Regions from separate parts of the Homo sapiens genome. Here region 2 is linked to region 1. The links are contacts of gene promoters, found by promoter capture Hi-C in human tissues and cell types (Jung and others, 2019). All regions are on one chromosome and are shown on one strand. The core of a region is centred on a gene start or on the middle of the fragment in contact, and the rest is flanking DNA. Distances in the headings are between cores, read along the strand shown. Region 1 holds the start of RPL39 (ribosomal protein L39). Region 2 has its middle 3.7 kb from the start of SOWAHD.

Region 1 (6,465 bases), core at 1,841-4,340:
GTACCCTTTATCTAGTTTTCCCCAGTGTTAGCATCTTGCATAACTATAGTACAATATCACAACCAGGAAATTCACGTTGGCACAGTCCACAGAGCTTATTCAGATTTCACCAGTTATACATATGCCCCTTGGGGCAGGGGTGGGCAGGGGGGAGTTGTATAGAATTGTTTTTTTTGTTTTTTTGTTTTTGTTTTTTGAGACAGAGTCTCACTCTGTCACCCAGGCTGGGGTGCAGTGTTGTGATCTCGGCTCACTGCACCCTCCACCTCCTGGGTTCAAGCAATTCTCTCTGTCTCAGCCTCCTGAGTAGCTTGGACTACAGGCACGCACCAGCATGCCCGGCTAATTTTTTTTGTTTGTTTTGAGACAGAGTCTCGCTCTGTCACCCAGGCTGGAGTGCAGTGGCGCGATCTCGGCTCACTGCAGCCTCCACCTCCCGGGTTCAAGCCATTCTCCTGCCTCAGCCTCCTGAGTAGCTGGGATTACAGGCGCGCGCCACCACACTTGGCTAATTTTTGTATTTTTAGTAGGGACGGGGTTTCACCATGTTGGTCAGGTTGATCTCGAACTCCTGACCTCAGGTGATCCGCCCGCCTCAGCCTCCCAAAGTGCTGGGATTACAGACGTGAGTCACCACACTTGGCAAATTCTATCACACGTGTAGCTTTGTGTAATTCCCACCACAAAAAAATCCAGAACCATACCATCGCCACAAGACTCCAAGAGGGCAGGGATTTTTGGTCAGATTTGTTTGCTTCTGTACCCCCAACACGAAGACCCGAACCAGACAGAGTAGGTTCCCAAAATCTGTGTTGAAAAGGCAGTAGAGGGTAGTGGTGACAGCACAGACTCTGAAGCCTGGACTACCTGAGTCTGAGTACCGGCTGTGCAACATAGTAGCTGTGTGACCTTGGGTATACAACTTAATCTGTCCCTGTTGCAGTTCCCTCTTCTGTAAAATGAGGATGATTAACCATACTTACCTTGTAGTGTTCTGGTGAAGATTCAAAAGGTCACTGGTAAAACATGGTAAGCTCACAGTGAGGCTTGAATTAATACATGCAGCTACATAGTAACTATCAAGCCCCATAAGCAGCAGCCACTGTTACTTTCATCCTTTTGCATTGCAACAGAACAGATAGTGCTAGGAGCCATAAGAAAGGTACAAATAAACTATTACAACAGTGTTGAAGGGGTGATGATTTCCAGCTAAGGGGAAGAGACAGCATTTGAATTCGGCCTTAGAAGGTGACTGGTGGTGTCATGAGCTAAATTATGTTCCCCCAAAATTCATGTGTTGAAGCCCTAATCCCCAGGACCTCAGAATGTGACTTTAGGCCGGGCACGGTAGCGCACTCCAGTAATCCCAGCACTTTGGGAGGCCGAGGCGGGCGGATTACTTGAGGTCAGGAGTTCGAGACCGGCTTAGCCAACATGGCGAAACTCCGTCTCTACTAAAAATACAAAAATTAGCTGGGTGTGGTAGTGCGTGCCTGTAGTCCCAGCTACTCGGGAGGCTGAGGCATGAGAATCACTTGAACCCGGGAGGCGGAGGTTGCAGTGAGCCAAGATTGTGCCATTGCACTCTAGCCTGGGCAATAAAGGGAGACTCAGTCTTGAAAAAAAAAAAAAGGAAATATGTGCTATAGTAATACATGGGCTTCTTAACATAGTTCTATTTGTGAACTTATAACTAATGTAATTTAAAGGGAGTGTGTAAATAATATATGGAGACATCTGCATCAACTGTAATGTAACATGAAGCCATCTATGGTTTCTATTAGTGACCAAGTCACGAGTACTGCTAATGCCACTGTGGTCTGTTGCCTACATTCCTAAATAAAGAAAGCATTACATTTCATTAAATTTGGTGAAAATAAAGTTGTATTTTCCCATTCAAGTTCATGGGATCCTCTGAATTCTATACATGGACTCTTGTGGACTCCAGGTTAAAAACCCTTGCTGTAATCCGTTGGTGTAAAAATGCTTGAGGTGACTGCAAATATACATGGAGGTTTTTGCGTTTATTTATTTACTTTTTCTTTTTTGAGATGGAGTTTTGCTCTTGTTGCCCAGGCTGGAGTGCAGTGGCGCAATCTCGGCTCGCTGCAACCTCCGCCTTCAGGGTTCAAGAGATTCTCTTGTCTCAGCCCCCGCAGTAGCTGAGATTACAGGCGCCCGCCACCACGCCTGGTTAGTTTTTTTGTATTTTTAGTAGGGACGGGGTTTCACCATGTTGGCCAGGCTGGTCTCGAACTCCTCGTTTCAAGTAATCCGCCCGCCTAGGCCTCCCAAAGTGCTGGGATTACAAGCGTGAGCCACCACGCCCAGCTTATTTTTATGTTTATTTTATTTACTCATCAAAAAGGAAAGGTTTTTGCTTTTAAATGGGGAAAAGGATGAAAATGGGGAACACTAGCATCCCAAACGCATGTTATTAATTATTGTACATCTTGCCAAAGGCGGGCTACAATGTCAGGCTGGACTTCTAGCAGCCAAGGAAGAGGTTCTGTCCCTAACTTTCTGAGTTGAAAACTTTGATTGGCAACCTTCCGCCTAGTCGAAAACCCCTAGGCTTACATAAGCGTCCACGTGGTCCAACCCCCTCCAACTTCTCCGGCTTCCTCCGACACGACTGTCCCTTCCCACACCTCCCAGCCAGGCCGAAATGACTCGTAACCCTCTGGGAAAATGGCACTTACTCTCCGCCTGCCGAGCTCCGACCCGGCGTTCCGAGTCCCCGGCGCCCGGAGGTGACGGTCGCTTCCCCTGCCCTCCCTTAGGGTTAGTCCCGCCCAATCGGCTCCTTAATTTTTCGGAGGGGCTTCTACTTTGGCATTTATCACGGGCTGTCTGCCTCACTTACGAAGCAGGGTGCCCCTAGCACACTGCCGGGCCCCTGGGGGAACGCACTTAGGGAAGCGAAGCAAAGCTAACTGCATTTGGCAGAAACCAGCGCGCTTTCCCACGGCGCCACGGGAGCGCACCGCTAGACAGAGAAGGCACTAGAAGAGGCGGTCGGTGCATAGCGTCACCTCCTAAACTCCGCCCATCGGAAGCGCCTTCTAAGCTCGTTCTTCCGCCAGCTTCCCTCCTCTTCCTTTCTCCGCCATCGTGGTGTGTTCTTGACTCCGCTGCTCGCCATGGTAAGTCCATCGGCCCCCATCGGCCCCGGGGTGGCTTCCCAAAACCCGAGGCCGCTGCCAGGAAATGCCTGGGCCGCGCGGAGCGTTGAGGGGCGGGAGCCTTTTAAAGGCTTTTTCAAGAAAATATCCAGTTCGGCCACTGTTGTCTTTCGTGGCCTGGAGGGAAGCTAGTGAGCCAGCGAGCAACCTGGAGAGGGACGGGCTGCGCTGCGGCCGCGGATTCAAGGGGGCTCTTTCTTTGCCCGGCCGCTGCCGAGTCGGGCAGGGATTCCGGTTTCCCTTCGCTTGTAGCGAACTCGTTCTGGAGGCGGGGGGTGGGAGGTGGCAGCCACCCCCGAAATCGTGGCCTGACTGTGGGCTGCCCGTGGCATGCGCAACGTGGAGGGTAATCAGGAGGGTATTGTGGGCTACTGGTTTTCGAAAAGGGTTTAGCTTGGCGTGGAGAAGCGAACCGCATTTTTAGATCCCAGGACTTTTGTTTAGAGGACGTTTATTCAGAGACTTGAGCGTCACCCCGTGGAAGCGCCTAGAACAAGGGGTGTTTTGCGAACCTGTGTGTCATTCTGGCCTTCTTAGTAAATGGCAGCAGCGAACCAGTCACTCTTTACTGGGAAATGTAAAATGTTGATTTCTAGATATGGAGGCGATAAGTACTGGTATTTTATTACTTGTCAAGTAATTTATTACTTGACAAAATTTACAACTGCTACTGTGGATGGGGGACGGGGTGTAATCTTTGCCTTCTTTGTATTGGCTCCCATTATTATGCAAGGGTATGTTCGTCCAGGTTGGCCAGGCATTAAACCTGCATCCGTGCCAATTTTGCAAGATTATTCTGTAGATTTGGGGGAGTATTGGGGTTGGCCTTAGATGAAAGCCAAAAGATGCAACTAGAAATTGAGACAGTCATCCTTGGAAAAGTGACATTTCATTTATTTTTAAATTTAAAAGTTTATTTTTTTAGCCAGTGAAATTTAGCAGTAGAGATAGAGTTAGGATTAATACCGAAATGGTGAGTAGGTTAGATCTTCTGAATGTCAGGGACTTTCCCTAAGTCTTAATTACCCTCCCAATAACACTTGAAAAGTACGTACCCCTGTTTTACAAAGTAGAGCACTGAGATTCGTTGACTTGCAAATGGTAGGTAGGTGGTTCTGTTTGACTCAAAGCTGTGTTCTTCCCAGGAAGCCAGATTCCCTAGCCATTCCCAGTGTGGTCGTCTGAGTCCTTGGGGGACCACAGGGTAAATTGAAAGGTAGCCTCTGGCTGTGGAGCAGAAAGGACCTGGGTTTGAATCCTGGTTCTGCACATTGATGCTCTGATTTTGTGCATGTTTCTTAACCGGATTCCACTTATTTTATCTGAACGATGGAAACTGTGGTATCTGCCCCCAGAGAAGTTGTGAGGGTCAGAGACTTGCTTGGCTTGATGGCTTAGCATTGAGAAGATTTTGGGGCTGGGGTATGTGTTAAGCACTCAAATGTTGGTTTGAAGGAGTTCTTGACTTTGAATCATTCGGGCAGGCTCTAATATTGTCTAAATTGATTGCATTTTCTTCCCAGTCTTCTCACAAGACTTTCAGGATTAAGCGATTCCTGGCCAAGAAACAAAAGCAAAATCGTCCCATTCCCCAGTGGATTCGGATGAAAACTGGAAATAAAATCAGGTAAGACCTCCATCATACTGCTTGTATTTTGCTAAATGTAAGAGCCACTGTGTCTGGCCAGGGTTACTTTTTGAGTATAAATACATGATTAAAATTGCATGCAATCCAATCCACCCTTTGACAGCATTCTCAAATTCGTTTTTAAAAACGTACTTCCTTTGTTTCTGCACTGCATCCAGCCCACATCTGGGCTTATGGGCAGATAATTCTCCAATACTTATTAATTTCCTGGTCATCTTCAGTCTGAGCTAGGTCATAAGGTGGAAGGCTGTCTTATACACATCCTGGTGGGGAAGACCCAGTCAGTATTTTTAGGCTTTTTGTTTTTGTTTTTGTTTTTGTTTTTGTTTTGAGACGGAGTCTCGCTCTGTTACCCGGGCTGGAGTGCAGTGGCACAATCTCGGCTCACTGCAACCTCTGCCTCCCAGGTTCAAGTGATTCTTTTGCCTCCGCCTTCAGAGTAGCTGGGACTACAGGCGTGCGTCACCACGCCCAGCTAAGTTTTATATTTTTAGTAGAGATGGTATTTCACTATATTGGCCAGGCTGGTCTCAAACTCCTGAGCTCAAGTGATCTGCCCCTCTCGGCTTCCCAAAGTGCTGGGATTACAGGCATAAGCCATTGTGCCCGGCCTTTGTTTTTGTTTTTTGAGACAGGATCTTGTTCTGTTTTACATGCTGCGTTGACACTATCTCCCTGCAACCTCTCCCTACCTACCAGACTCAAGTGACCCTCCCACCTCATCTCTCTGAGTAGCTGGGACTACAGGCACACGCCACCACACCTGGCTAATTTTTAAATTTTTTGTAGAGATGGGGTCTCTCTGTGTTGCCCAAGCTGGTCTTGAACTCCTGAGCTCAAGCAATCCTCCTGTCTCACCCTACCAAAGTGCAGAGATTACAGGCGTGAGCCATCACACCTAGCCCAGTCTTTTAGATGTTTCTCTTTTCTAAAAAGAGACTAGAAAAGATTGGAAAACTGTCCTCTACTGCAGAAGTAGTTGATCTCAAAGGAAAAACATTACTAGAATTGCTATGAAGGACCTCCAAGGTCATCTAGACTAACTCCAGGGAAAGCTAGGCCTGAAACAGTCTCCTGCATGGCTTTTTCAGCCCATCGCTCTTTGGTCCTGATGGGCCTTGAGACAGGTTTTGAAGGGAGCATCAAGAATCAGCAAGAGTTGCCCAAGGTTCAGCAGTCGCTCTCTCACCCAGGCTGAGTGCAGTGGTGTAACCCTCCCACCTCAGCCTCCTCCTGAGTAGCTGGGACTACAGGCGTTCACCACCATGCCTGGCTAATTTGTGTACCTGTTGTAGAGATGGGGTTTCGCCATGTTGCCCAGGCTAGTCAAAGCACTTTCTCTTTTTTTTTTTTTTGAGATGGAGTTTTGCTCTCATTGCCCAGGCTGGAGTGCAATGGTGTGATCTTGGCTTACCGCAACCTCTGCCTCCCAAGTTCAAGCGATTCTCTTGCTCAGCCTCCCAAGTAGCTGGGATTACAGGTGCCTGCCACCACACCTGGCTAATTTTTGTATTTTTAGTAGAGACGGGGTTTCACCATCTTGGCCAGGCTGGTCTTGAACTCCTGACCTCGTGATTCACGCGCCTCTGCCTCCCAACATGCTGGGATTACAGGCATGAGCCACCGCGCCCA
Region 2 (6,465 bases), core at 2,281-4,780, 37 kb after region 1:
CCTCTTATCTCTTCAGGAGTCTCCCTGCACTTTGTCCCGGAGTTGCCATTGTCCCGCGCCTAGCATTCACGCAGGCAGCTCGACTGCCCCATGTGACTGGCTCGTCTGCCTGCCTTGCCCTTTGTGTGGCCTTGACCCTCGCCGCAGCACCCGGGGCTGCCCAGGATTCCAGCAGAGAAGCCCAAGACCAGGGTCCAGGCTGACGCTCTTCCAGGGAACTCAGGAGGGATATTCCCCTTCTGCACCGCCCTCTCTGTCCTGCTCTCCACCCTCTTCCCTCCCGTCAATTTTCCCAGGTTGGCTTGGAGAAGCAGCTACAGGTGAATCTGAGCCGGCGCCGCAGGAGCGCCCTGTTCTCTTTAGAGATGCATCCCTGCTCTCTCCCCAGGGCCCCGCTTTCTACAAATTCAAAGCTTAGGGGCTTTTTAAAAAAGGATATTTTTTCTTTTTCACTCCTAATACCAGCGTACTCTTTGCTCTTCCCTTCCCTTAGTAAATAGTGGTTCTTGCCTCCACACCCCCAGCATCTTAAGGAGCTCAGTCAGTGAGCAACGGGGAGCCATAGAAGATTGTTGAGCCGGGGAGAGACACAGCCATGATGGAGGTTGTGTTAAAAAGGTGATTTGGGAGGTGCAGAGGCAGGAAGTCGGAAGACTGTTCCAGCAGTCTAGGCCAAGGGGGATGGAGGCTCAGGCCAAATCAGCCCACTCCCTCGGGGCCACCTGTGGCAGCAGTGATAGAAGGTATCGGAAGCTTTTCTTCCTTGGCCCTCACGTATTTGGAACAAGTCCTAAATATCTAGAGCTTTCCTTCAGAACAGTTTATGCATTTGTAATTTGGTTTTGAACATTTACTATGTGCCAGGCACTGTGCTTGTTGCGTTATATATGTTAACTCTTTTAATCCTCCCAGTGACCTCAAGTGCTGGGAATCATTACTGTCCCCAGTTTGCAGAGAGGTTAGGCTACTTGCTCAAGGTCACCCAGCAGGAAGTGGCAGAGCAGGTCTGTGCGACACCATAGCCTTTGTTCTGGTACACAGGAACTGGCATTCAAGCCTGGCTTATCAACTGCAAATCACATACAAGCCCCAAATTCCAGCCAAAAGGATAGACTTGTAACGTGAGCGTATCTATAACTTACACTCCTCTGCCTGGAAGAGCTTCTATGTAGTGAAGTTCTTTTCTTTCAAGGTTGCGCTTAGTTTCCACCTCTAGCAAGCCTCCTCTGATTATCCCAGCCCAAAGTGATCCCTCTCTTTCCCCAGCCCTGTGTTTCTGCTACTTCTTTGGCCCCAAGACTGCCTTGTGTTACATCTCTCTCCCCTTGCTCTCATATGCCAATTAAACTATAAACTCTTGGACAGCTATGTCATACTATCCTTGTGCACCTAGTAGTTATCCAAGAAATATTTGTTACCTTGTTCTGGTTTGGCAGGCTGGGAAAATGTGATTGTGTGTGTGTATGTTGGGGGCGGGGGACATGTATCCACAATCAGCACCTCAATGCCTGCTCCCACATCCCTGCTCCAGACTCCAATCTGCAGGACATCAAAAGCAACTCATAGATTTGGTCAATTCATTTTTCTTTAAAAGAGATTCAGTGGTTTATTCACTGAGTTGACTGGCCAAAGCCACCTCCTGGCCTTCGCTGACTTCTCAGAGACCAGGCCTAGGCCCAGAATGGGCCCCAAGCTTTCAGGCTTTCATTTTCAAAATGAATCCTGACTGACAAGCAGCTACTTCCGTTGCTCTGGAGACTCCTCTCCGCAACCCCAGATCTGTAAACACCAAACCGCACACAGGCACACACACTTCCAGAATATGCAAACAGCTGCAGCAATATTTTTTTTTAAGTCAAAATGCCAGCATGGAAAATGCAGGATGGAAGAATGCTTGGACTATTAATTTTCGTCACCACTAAGCAGGCAACTCTCTTCCCTATCAGCATGAATAATATCTGTTTCCAGTTCAAAGATTGCAAAGGCAGCCGCCTGACCAGTGCCACAGACCCATGATACATGTGCCCTTGCTTAACTCTGCTGCTAGAGACCAAAGCCACGGTGCCTCCCTAGCAACTTGTTTCATCTTTAATTAGCAAGTGCTTTCTACCCTAGGTCACCAGCTGCACACACCACTCCCCAGAACCGCAACACCCATCTCTATTTTAGTAGAGAGGGTCTCAGGAATTTGATAGCAGGGAGTAGGGCAGAGGGAGTGGAAAACAGAAGGGATAGTACCCACCCACCTAAAATTAACATGCCAGTTATCTGAAACATCTGCTACCCCTCCAAGGGAGTGGGGCAAAAACCCCTCAAGCCCTGGGAAATGACTTCCCAAAAAGCTGGAGGTAGAGTAGATATTTGCATTGCAAATTGTAATAATACTGATGTCTTTTCCAAATAGCAGCCTCTCTAATATATTTGTGGGTTTATTTACTAGATCTTGGACTATTAGAACTAGAAGAGATCGGCTGGGCGCGGTGGCTCATGCCTGTAATCCCAATACTTTGGGAGGCCGAGGCAGGCTGATCACGAGGTCAGGAGATCGAGACCATCCTGGCTAACACGGTGAAACCCCGTCTCTACTAAAAAATACGAAAACTTAGCCGGCCGTGGTGGTGGGTAGTCCCAGCTACTCGGGAGGCTGAGGCAGGAGAATGGCGTGAACCCGGGAGGTGGAGCTTGCAGTGAGCTGAGATCACGCCACTGCACTGTAGTGTGGGTGACAGAGCGAGACTCCGTCTCAAAAAAAAAAAAAAAAAAAGAACTAGAAGAGATCTTAATGTTTCATTGGCCTTTATTTTCCAGATGAGGTTTAACTAACTCAGGGAGCATGGCAGAAGGCAGAGGAACAGAGAAGCTGATGTGTTAGGCGTACACTGAAAATCTATCTTGATGAAGAGAGCAGCTCAGAAATCTTAGGGGATGTCAGTAGGAAATCATAGTTGATCTGCAAAAATTTAATTTACATGAAACTTCTCAGAAACATGCTCCTTGGGCGAAGCCAAATGCTGGTGTATCCTTGGGCTCTCAATGGAGTTTGCCCCGGGGGCTTATGGATTCAGAAAAATCCATGAGTGCAAAACAGTTGAGAAGCAGATGTGTGGAATATGGGAAGTAAAGTCCCTCAGGCGTCCATAACCCTCGGTCATGGAGGGAATGGGGAACATTCTTTTTTTTTTCTTTCTTTCTTTTTTTTTGAGACGGAGTCCCATCTGTTGCCTAGGCTGGAGTGCAGTGTGGTGTGATCTCGGCTCACTGCAACCTCCGCCTCTCTGGTTCAAGTGATTCTCATGCCTCAGCCTCCTGAGTAGCTGGGATTACAGACGTGCACCACCATTCTCAGCTAAATTTTGTATTTTTAGTAGAGACGGGGTTTTACCATGTTGGCCAGGCTGGTCTCGAACTCCTGGCCCCAAGTGATCCACCCACCTTGGCCTCCCACCACACCCGGTGGTGTGAGCCACCACACACGGCTGGAACATTCTTGGGGTTCCAGATATAGAATGTAAATTTCCTTTCCTCCAAAGACCTGTGCTGATATCATCATGATTCTCAATGAGAAACCTATGAAAGAGAGAGAGCTCCTTTCTCTCTGTTTGCATGTGAATGTGTGTGCAAGAATGGATGTTTGAGTGGTATGTATGTGTACCAGACATCACTGTCTGGTTGTGTGTATAATGTGTATGTGTCTGTGTGTATGTACTCTGCCAAACATCACTTTCCCCTTCCCAAATGTCAGACCTTTACATGAGATCTCATTTTGGATCCCTTTTCCTTAGACTATGGAACAAGTCATATTTGGTAAACACTTTAAAAATTATTTCCTAGTACTTTGGAATTACCCCCACCTTCCCACCCCCCTCCCCCGCCAATCCTGCAGTAAGACCTGATGTATCCAGTTAAAAAAAGAACTTACAATCTTATTTTGAGAGCTTACTGAGCTTGGAAGAGTAGAAAGTGGTAGAACCAAGTTGACACCAGGGCTTCTAAAAATGACTAAGGAGAAAGGGGTGGGCAGGGAGCAGGAAGAAATCTGTAGGCCTGAGTGGAAGCAGGAAACCTGCCTAAACTCAAGCTGGAATGGCTTAATTGGAGCCTGAGAGTCAAGCATGGGCTTTGAAGTGTGACGAGAAAAAAATTTCCATTACACATTTTATTGATACTGAGATTAAAAGAATGCCACATCCTGTAAAAGACTTAAGGTATTACCATATGGAGACACATGAGGGCGCTCTGACCAACTAGCAACTGAGAAAAGTAGAAAGGCTGTGTCTGTTTCAACCTGTAGGCAACGAAAGAGGCATGGCAGGCCCTTTGTTTAATTTTTTTTTTTTTTAGGACAGGGTCTCGCTATGTTGCCCAGGCTGGTCTTGAACTCCTAGGGTCAAGCGATCCTCCCACCTCAGCCTCCCAAAGTGCTGGGATTACAGGCATGAGCTACCGCGCCCAGCAACAGGCCCTTTTGTTTTGTTTTGTTTTGTTTTGTTTTGAGACAGTCTCACTCTGTCACCCAGGCTGGAATGCAGTGGCACGATCTCGGCTCACTGCAACCTCTGCCTCCCAGGTTCAAGCGATTCTCTTGCCTCAGACTCCCGAGTAGCTGGGATTACAGGTGTGTACCACCACACCCAGCTAATTTTTGTATTTTTAGTAGAGATGTCATTCCCCTGTGTTGGCCAGGCTGGTCTTGAACTCCTGGCCTCAAGTGATCCACCCACCTCTGCCTCCCAAAGTGCTGGGGTTACAGGCGTGAGCTACTGCGCCCAGCAATAAGCCCTTTGTTTATATGAATTCAGGCTTCTACCCTGGAGCAGGTCATTGGCCCTTAAGTAGTTGCTGGGAAGAAGGTACTAGCCCTAGGGGTGAGGGGGCTGGCCTCATCTTGAAAGGAATGTGAACCATCAGGAGAGAGGGGGAGGCCAGTGAGCAGTACAAAGTGGTTCCTTCCTTACTTTATCAGTTGGCTTCTGTCATACGTAAGGCTTGGAATAATAAACTCTTAGTTTTCAGAGTGCTTTCATATTTTTAATTATCTCTTGACCCAGACAGCAAGCTTGTGAGATATGTAGAGAAGACAGTATTTATATGCAATTCACACACAAGGCTGAGGGAGGTTAAGTGGCCTGCCCAGGGTCACGCGTCTCGAAAGTGGTAGAGCAGGGTCCGTGCTCATGCCTCTGTTTGATGCTGCCATACTGTACATTTGGGTACGGCTGACAGGAACAGCTCTTAATAAAATTGTGCAGTGGGTAAATGTTGTCCTTGGCGCCTTCAGCCATCTATTTCTGACATCCAGGCATCCTGTACCCCAGATCACCTAACGTAGCACTCTGTAATAACAGTGATTACAGCTGCCTACTGTTCATTAAGCACTTAGGTGGCTGGTGACTTAGGTCCTGTGCCAAGCATTAAATATGCATTTTCATACATGAATGGTCACAGCAGAACTATTTACAATAGCCAAAAGGTAGAAACAATCCCGATATCCATAGTATATCCATACCATGGAATGTTATTTGGCCATACAAAGGAATGAAATAGGCCAGGCACAGTGGCTCACGCCTGTAATCCCAGCACTTTGGGAGGCTGAGTCGGGCAGATCACCTAAGATCAGGAGTTCGAGACCAGCCTGGCCAACATGGTAAAACCCTGTCTTTACTGAAAAAAGAAAATACAAAAATTGCCAGATGCAGTGGCTCACACCGGTAATCCCAGCACTTTGGGATGCCGAGGTGGGTGGATCACCTGAGGTCAGGAGTTTGAGACCAGCCTGACCAATATGGTAAAACACCATCTCTACTAAAACTACAAAAATTATCCGGGCATGGTGGTGCGTGCCTGCAGTCCCAGCTATGCTGGAGGCTGAGACAGGAGAATTGCTTGAACCTGGGAGGTGAAGGTTGCAGTGAGCCAAGATTGTGCCACTGCACTCCAGCCTGGGAGACAGAACGAGACTCCATCTCAAAAACAACAACAACAACAAACCCCAAAAATTAGCTGGGCGTGGTGGTGGGCGCCTGTAATCCCACTTACTTGGGAGGCTGAGTCATGAGAATCGCTTGAACCCTGGAGGCGGAGGTTGCAGTGAGCCAAGATTGCGCCACTGCCCTCCAGCCTGGGTGATAAAGCGAGACTCAGTCTCGGAAAAAAAAAAAAAAGGCCGGGCGCGGTGGCTCACGCCTGTAATCCCAGCACTTTGGGAGGCCAAGGAGGGCGGATCACGAGGTCAGGAGATCAAGACCATCCTGGCTAACACGGTGAAACCCCGTCTCTACTAAAAATACAAAAAATTAGCTGGGCATAGTGGCGGGCACCTGTAGTCCCAGCTACTCCGGAGGCTGAAGCAGGAGAATGGCGTGAACCGGGAAGGCGGAGCTTGCAGTGGGCCGAGATCGCGCCACTGCACGCCAGCCTGGGCGACAGAGCAAGACTCCGTCTCAAAAAAAATAAATAAATAAAAAA

The links. The method cuts DNA at HindIII sites, captures the fragments that hold promoters and counts their contacts. A contact is called where the count stands out against the background at its distance.
Region 2: a fragment that was not itself captured here is called in contact with the fragment with the promoter of RPL39 in region 1 in 1 of the 25 tissues and cell types used here (pancreas).

What each region holds. Positions count from the first base shown.
Region 1 is chrX:119,788,255-119,794,719 of GRCh38, reverse strand. It overlaps RPL39 (ribosomal protein L39), which reads left to right and starts at 3,090. Exons shown (of 3, transcript NM_001000.4): 1 at 3,090-3,146; 2 at 4,709-4,812. The coding sequence starts at 3,144. LOC107985694 (a long non-coding RNA gene) reads right to left here and starts at 3,004. Exons shown (of 3, transcript XR_001755949.2): 1 at 2,703-3,004; 2 at 984-1,144. RefSeq lists enhancers at 3,096-3,355, 5,225-5,284. The HindIII fragment of the contact is 28,989 bases long and covers 1-6,465 here.
Region 2 is chrX:119,751,649-119,758,113 of GRCh38, reverse strand. No RefSeq gene overlaps it. Among named protein-coding and RNA genes, the nearest start is that of SOWAHD, 3.7 kb to the left of the region's middle. RefSeq lists enhancers at 1,733-1,932, 1,943-2,002. The HindIII fragment of the contact is 5,893 bases long and covers 584-6,465 here.